Regions from separate parts of the Homo sapiens genome. Here region 1 is linked to region 2. The links are contacts of gene promoters, found by promoter capture Hi-C in blood cells and fetal thymus (Javierre and others, 2016). All regions are on one chromosome and are shown on one strand. Each heading gives the region's core, a stretch centred on a gene start or on the middle of the fragment in contact. The rest is flanking DNA. Distances are from core to core; before and after follow the strand shown. Region 1 has its middle 44 kb from the start of SNORA33. Region 2 holds the start of TAAR6 (trace amine associated receptor 6).

What was found. The method cuts DNA at HindIII sites, captures the fragments that hold promoters and counts their contacts. A CHiCAGO score of 5 or more calls a contact.
Region 1: a fragment that was not itself captured here is called in contact with the fragment with the promoter of TAAR6 in region 2 in 1 of 17 cell types (neutrophils); the score reaches 5.2 in neutrophils.

The regions. Positions count from the first base shown.
Region 1 is chr6:132,858,816-132,863,027 of GRCh38, forward strand. No RefSeq gene overlaps it. Among named protein-coding and RNA genes, the nearest start is that of SNORA33, 44 kb to the left of the region's middle. The HindIII fragment of the contact is 1,450 bases long and covers 1,511-2,960 here.
Region 2 is chr6:132,568,368-132,572,317 of GRCh38, forward strand. TAAR6 (trace amine associated receptor 6) reads left to right here and starts at 1,955. Exons shown (of 1, transcript NM_175067.1): 1 at 1,955-2,992. The coding sequence starts at 1,955. The coding sequence ends at 2,992. The HindIII fragment of the contact is 3,206 bases long and covers 141-3,346 here.

The sequences.
Region 1 (4,212 bases), core at 986-3,485, 290 kb after region 2:
TCAATTAAGCAGAGGAATGTTAAATGTAAAGCTAAATTGATGAAAATAACCAAACTTTCTGACAAACCAATAAATTGGAGTCTAGAACTCATTGCCCATACTGTATGGCAGCCAGAGAAACATTGCTAGATCATCAATTTTTACCTAATTTTTGAGTTACTTTATACTTGAAAAGAGAAAAGGAATGCTAGGAAAGTAATTTAAATTATTCCCAGCTATAAACAGAGAATATGCACATTGGACGTAGACCTTATTCTTCCCTGTATGCAATTGAACTGATTGTTTATTCTTTTGGCAATTTCCTCACTGAAATTTTTGGAAATGTAAAACAGAGTTTTCAGGGAACTCTCATGTCAACATTTTGGCAAATGATCTGGCAACATGCTAGTCATTGGACCGCTTTTCTGAACTTCTCAGAACTACTCCATGGCAATCTGTATTCTTTGAAAGGGATGTTTTAATTTTCCTTCCCTCAAATTTTTATTCCTTCAAGTTGCTGTCACGTTGAGATGACAATATACTAGAAAAATTATGAGTTTGGAGAAGAAAATTCTAAATTTCTTCCTGAAAACAGAGGGTAAAATTACATAGTCAGAAATATGACTCTCTGCACATTTCTGCTTATGTCAGATGTTTCCATTTTTAATACAGAAATTTACCTCTGAATTGGTCTTTTTATTTTGTGAGAGATGGCAGGAAATAAACCTTTGAAATCAAAGAAAGGGGAAGCTAAGGCCGTCATCTTTGCCACTGTGAAATGGGTACCCTTTGCTGAAAGGTCAGTCAGAAACCCAGGCTCCCACATCTTGATCTCCACTGCCCTACAGGTACAGAAGTTTCCCGTGATCCTCTCGCTAAGAAAGTAGAACTGCTTCCAAATGTAAGGTAGTGTCTCTAAGTTTCTATGGTTCTATCCTAAGCTCAAAGTGTGCCAGAAGGACCCTGTATCTTATTTGGGCAAAATTTTAGTCCAGGCAAAGGCCTATTTCAAAACCGATTAATGCTATAATTTTTTTTCTAACAACACTGGGGAACAATCAGTTTTTCAAATTAGTTGGTCACTCAACACTTTTGTCTGGTGGCCACTCAAAAAATATTATTTTTTGCAAAATTATTTTTGGACACTTCCATGAAACTGCTCCTTTTTAAATTAAAGTTTCATGCTCTGGCTTTTATTAAAGTTTCAAACCTTTTCTCAATGTTTGATCAAATTCACCCGAAATTTAAATCAGAGTTAATTACATATATTAGATATTTCCAAGGACTTACATTTTAAATTTTTATTACTTATTTAAATGGCATTCAGAGGAAAAAAATGAAATAATCTCATTTGAGGGCAGGCAACATGGTTTTCCCTCAGTTTACCTTTGCATCTAGTTGTTCCTAATGGTGTTGACTTCATATAAATGCTCAATTACTATTGCTGCTATAGTTCCCATTAAGTGCTGTATTTAAGATGAGTGGTGGTGGCCTCTTGATCAATCAAGTATTTAAAGCATCTTATCCTTTAAGCTTTCATGTTATCCACACATTTAATTTGCTTAAAACCTCTTAGGTATTCATTCAAATCACAGATGAAAAAATTGAACATCTGCATTCTGAGATAAGCTGCTGGTTATCTCCCTCCAGGTTCAGTTGATCTGCAGATATGTATTGGGTATTTAGGCCCTTTGCTCAGGCCAGGGTTGCAAAGATAATATTACATGATCTCTGTCTTCCAATAACTCTCAATAGAGAGGATAGTAAAGCATTGATTAATAAATATGTTATCAGCCAGCTATGAATTCATTTAATGTGGTATTCCCCAGATCACAGTCCTCATTCTTTCCATATAAGTGTCTGCTATCCATATATAAGGCAATAGGATAAGTCTTAGAAAAAAATTATGCTTTGTGATATTTATTTCATCTACAAATTTATTTTTAAAGACTTTATCAAGAGTTTTGCTATAATCAAGGCCCACTACGCCTACTGATTTAGGATAGTTTCAGCCCAGTATAGACAGGCATAGTTTGTAGGGAACAAGGTTAACTCTCAAGTTCAGCATGATAACTGAAGCCTTCTGATACTCTGATTTCTTAGTTGGGCATTCCTCTGACTTTTACCGTCCTCTCTTCTGGGTTTGATCCCATTTTTCTAATAACTTCTTTGTATTCATATTTCTCATCCATCTTTTCTTTAGTCTTTCACAACTCCCTGCCCTCTGACTATATCCAACACTGCTCAATTTTCACATTAGTGTTTAGCTTTTGGTCAATTTGTTGCTCATTCAAACATTACAACTTTCAAAAACATGTAAAGATAGCTAATAAACATATTAGGCATGATATTTGTAAGTCATGATACATTAGTCACTCTCATTACATACATTTTCTCTAAATATATCTGATATAACTTTTGTCTCTAGCCAAAAGATATTAAGTCATATGTAATAGGGGGTAAGAAATACGACTCTTTATACTGTACTTCAGCCTATGGCTCAAAGACTGATCAATACAAAGTTATCATGAGGATGGTGGGGCAGCGTATTTCAAAGTGAGGTTTCAAGGAAGTCTTTATGGACCATCCCACACTCAAGAAACACTGTTAGGCCCACTTCATCTGATTTGCGCTTCAAGAGCTGCCTAGAGTACTCAGGAACCTTACCATTACAACAGAGAAGTAGATGGGGTCTAGAAGGTTTTCCACTTGACCGATGGTCAACCATGTTATAATCCTTTCATTACAATTCTGTTGTCATTTTGGTAAACAAAGAATAACATTCAGATTCAAAAATCATTTATTATTAAGGGTCTATTGTGTGTAGGCATAGGCACTTTCACAATAAATTGCTATTCTTTAACTTAACAAATATGTATCTTGAGAACCCATTATGTGTCACGTTTGGTACTATATGGAAAATTTGATATTTGGTCTAAAATCTTGGGAAACATCCATCAAATATACAATATGAAAATGAAAGCTTCTCAGAAAGTTATTTGTGTGTTTTTTTTTGTTTTTTTTTTTTTTTTTTTTTTTCGGGATGGAGTTTCACTCTTGTTGCCCAGGCTGGAGTGCAACGGCGCAATCTCCGCTCACTGAAACCTCTGACTCCCGGGTTCAAGCGATTCTCCTGCCTCAGCCTCCCAAGTAGCTGGGATCACAGGTGCCTGCCACTACACCCGGCTAATTTTTTTGTACTTTTGGTAGAGACGAGGTTTCACCATGTTGGCCAGGCTAGTCTTGAACTCCTGACCTGAGGTGATCCACCCACCTCGGCATCCCAAAGTGCTGGGATTACAGGCGTGAGCCACCGCACCCAACCTCCAGAATCTATAAATGCTAAACAACAACAAAACAAAATGAAAGAGTTTTAAAATAGGAATATTGTTTATATTTTTATATGATTTTTCAAGCACAAAGCAGAATGAAGCAAAAATTACTTATGGGGGAAAATATACACATTTTACCTTTATACTTTTTTCTTTTATTTTGTTCCTGCTTGAGCATTAACAACAACGTATGGTGAATATAAGTTTGCAATATATATAATGCTTTTGTATTTTTCATGAATTTTAATGTAAATACTCATATTCAAACTGAATGGATTAGATGAATCCAATTCATATATGCACGACTCACATAACTTTGGTTCCTAGGAAACTTGCGTAACCTACTTTTTGGTAGATTCCTTTATCTTCATTCAGAAGTGCTGCCTTTTCAGTGTTGGCTAAGTTCTAAGAAGAGATTAGAAAGGAATAGGCCGAGAACTCAGAAAACCTTGTTCCTACTTCTAATTTAGGCGCTTGACATTAGCTGTGTTTCATTGCTTCCCCATATTTAGCATTGGTAAAATGTCTATTGAATAGCAATCTTAAGAGATACATTAAAAGTCATTTCAATTTTAAGGGCTTTAATAATAAAGGTATAAAAACAATAGCGACATAGATAATAGTAGCTAGCATTTATAAGGCCAAGTATTTTATTTTATGTTAGTTTAGTTTAGTTTCGTTTCGTTTAAAGATGGAGTCTTGCTCTGTTACCCAGTCTGGAGTGCCGTATCGCATGATCTCGGCTCACCGTAACCTTTGCCTCCCAGACTCAAGCAATCCTCCCACCTCAGCCTCCTGAGTAGCTGGGATTACAGGCACGCACCATCATGCCTGGCTAATTTTTTGTATTTTTAGTAGAGGCGGGGTTTCAACATGTTGGGCGGGCTGGTTTCAAACTCCT
Region 2 (3,950 bases), core at 705-3,204:
GGGACCCCTTTGTCTCATCTGCCTGTCATTGTGCTTACTGTAGACGCTATTGTCTTTCGTCTGTGTAGTACTTATCACAATTTGAAATTGTAAATCTGTCTTTCTATTTCCTTAAGTTTTGTTTTCCTCTTAAGATTATAAGCTTCGTGAGTATAGTGGTCATAACAGTTTTGTTCATTACTTGAATACACAGCTACTGGAATTCAATAAATATGTGTTGAATAGATGAATTAATAAATGAATATCAGAATGATGAAGGGATATAAAGTTATTTTTCTATTTGAAATCGAGGCATCACTTGACACTTTTTTATTGCCTAAGACAATTGTCTTAATGGAGGAAGGGGGTTGATTTTGTCCCTTGAGGAATTTGGCAATGTCTGGAGACGTTTTTGGTATCTCAACTAGAAGGATTTTACTGACATCTCGTAGCAGGGGTGCTGCTAAAAGCCACGTGATTAACAGAATAATTTATCATATCAAAGAGTTATCTGAATTCAAAAGTCCATTGTGCTCAAGTTGAGAAAGCCCCGCACGGGGTTTTGTCTATATAAGAAATTGACACCATTTCACAAAATCAGACATACAGAAAATATTAAGAAGCATCTGAAAACTACTTGGTTAAGAGTGTTAATTTTATTGAGTAGGAATCAGATAGCGAGATTGATTAATAATAATACTTATCACTCTTTATAACTTGAAAAGCAAGTTCACAAATGTCTCTAAAGTCACAGCCCTGTACTGGAAAGAGAGTTGAACCCTTCTTCAGGAAGACAATAATATAATAATAACAATATTTTCTTCACTCTGCAGTGTCTTTACATTCCAGGGTTGGGAACATTACTGAGGATTCTCTTCCCATTTTCCAGTTTCCTGTTCATTATTCTTATTTTTTTGACTGCTTTTAGCATCGGGAGCACAAAGGCCAGTCACCAGGAATTGCAAACAAATGCGTAGTCAGAGAGAGAGGGCTCACTGCCCATTTGTCATGTGGATGCAGACACATTGCAGATGTGTTCCCAGTAACAATGTCTTGAGAAGAGGACTGGTCTTTCCACCAGCATCTCAGAAATGCCGGTGTGTCTAAACAGCATGTCGTTCTTTAATGCTTTCATGCAATATATTTTATCAATCTCAAGTTCCCCTCACTATGTATTATAATAATTTCTGCTTGTTGGTAACCAATGCAGATGGAAAATTGATTCTTAACAGAAGAGAAAGAGCCAAGTATTGATGCTTACTATTTACACCCTATTGTATCTTTGTAACAAAAACCCGGGTGGCTAAGTTATGATTGGGAACAAGGGAATGGTTCAAGTCTATGCACTAAGGAAAAACAAATCTTTGGCCTAAAACAATAATGATAATAGAATTTAATATAGAGTAGAGACCTGTTTTGTAGAATAACTTTCCTAGTAATCACTGTTGAAAATAATCATACTAGTTCACACCGCGCACTACAGGGATTCCATCGAGGGATTTTCCCATTGAAGGCATTTATTTAGCTAAAAGGACTTCATCTTTAAGGCGGTAATGCAGGACAGATAACAGAGATAAAGATAACAGGAGGTGATCTTTCAGCTCCATAATTACATTCCATATCAGCGACTGTTGCACAGAGAAACTCAAAAGGTAAAAATAAAATATGAAAGGATATTTAAAATCAAAAGGAATTTTATCAAATTAAGAGCATGAGACATTTATCAGTTGAAACAATCTCCAATAATCTTGTGCAATATAATTTTTGTCAAATTTTATTTTGTCATAAACATTTGGGATTTATAATAAAAATGGAAACTTGAAAAATTATATTAGAGATAATATCTGATCATTTCCTCTGGCATCCTGGTGAATATGTGTTTTTTTCCGCAGGAGCACTGAAAATCAGGAACAATCCTGTATTTTTTGTGATAATCAACAAGGACAAAACTTCTCCATATGTAAATAACAGCGTTATGAGCAGCAATTCATCCCTGCTGGTGGCTGTGCAGCTGTGCTACGCGAACGTGAATGGGTCCTGTGTGAAAATCCCCTTCTCGCCGGGATCCCGGGTGATTCTGTACATAGTGTTTGGCTTTGGGGCTGTGCTGGCTGTGTTTGGAAACCTCCTGGTGATGATTTCAATCCTCCATTTCAAGCAGCTGCACTCTCCGACCAATTTTCTCGTTGCCTCTCTGGCCTGCGCTGATTTCTTGGTGGGTGTGACTGTGATGCCCTTCAGCATGGTCAGGACGGTGGAGAGCTGCTGGTATTTTGGGAGGAGTTTTTGTACTTTCCACACCTGCTGTGATGTGGCATTTTGTTACTCTTCTCTCTTTCACTTGTGCTTCATCTCCATCGACAGGTACATTGCGGTTACTGACCCCCTGGTCTATCCTACCAAGTTCACCGTATCTGTGTCAGGAATTTGCATCAGCGTGTCCTGGATCCTGCCCCTCATGTACAGCGGTGCTGTGTTCTACACAGGTGTCTATGACGATGGGCTGGAGGAATTATCTGATGCCCTAAACTGTATAGGAGGTTGTCAGACCGTTGTAAATCAAAACTGGGTGTTGACAGATTTTCTATCCTTCTTTATACCTACCTTTATTATGATAATTCTGTATGGTAACATATTTCTTGTGGCTAGACGACAGGCGAAAAAGATAGAAAATACTGGTAGCAAGACAGAATCATCCTCAGAGAGTTACAAAGCCAGAGTGGCCAGGAGAGAGAGAAAAGCAGCTAAAACCCTGGGGGTCACAGTGGTAGCATTTATGATTTCATGGTTACCATATAGCATTGATTCATTAATTGATGCCTTTATGGGCTTTATAACCCCTGCCTGTATTTATGAGATTTGCTGTTGGTGTGCTTATTATAACTCAGCCATGAATCCTTTGATTTATGCTTTATTTTACCCATGGTTTAGGAAAGCAATAAAAGTTATTGTAACTGGTCAGGTTTTAAAGAACAGTTCAGCAACCATGAATTTGTTTTCTGAACATATATAAGCAGTTGTATAGACGAAGTTCAGGATACCTTTAAAATTACCAAGCGAAATGAGTTTTTAAAAATCAAGTAAGACTATGAATGAATAGCAAATAAATTGCTCTTCAAATGAAAAACAAATCAATGTTTTTCAGTCTTGTTAAGATGTGCACTTTCCTGTCCCTTCTGCAAAAGTATTTACTTGGCTAACAAATGTTAAATTCCTATTTGTTAACTGCTTTAGAGCTCAGCATATCCCACTCCCTGCAGACACTTTTTGTCTTTTAATCCATTGACTCTTCCCTCTGCTCTGGTATTTTTCCTAAAAATATTTGTTTTTTTTTTTTTATTTATTCCCTTTCCTCTTTTCTTTACAAAGCTTTCTACTCTTTCCCAGCCTGCCAAAAATTTCATTTGTGAATAGCCTTTATCAAATTATTGGTTTCTTTTGCTTTGGTTATTTTACCACAGGAGTCCTTTTAGGTATTAATTTAATTTATTCAATCTTGGGAGAGATCTCAGGGTGTATGGGGCAATTTGCAAATGAAGACATCATCTTGACCAGGCTGTTGTAATTGTCAAACCAGTTACTGTCATTCTTGTAATTATTTCCTCCCCCAAAGTGGGAAGCAGAAGCCACTGTACTTCCCAGAATGATGTTAGGATGATTATTTGGCTGCTGTTCTTGCTATTGCACAAAACTGTTTAAAGAGTTGGTATGAATAGAGCCCTGTGTTACATTATTCAGTTCATACACATTGAATATTACTTGTTCCTTTAGGGAGGATATCTTTCAAGTGCAGTCTCTAGCTTTCTTTTCTTTTTTTTTCTATATTAAAACTTAATTACAGCAAGGAATTTGCAAGATTAGAAGCCATGTGGAATATACATCAATGAGAAGCATTCAGGTATTCATCCATGTTTTTTCCATTTACCAAACATGAAACCTGTGCCTATATTGTATGGAAATCAGTGCTAGAT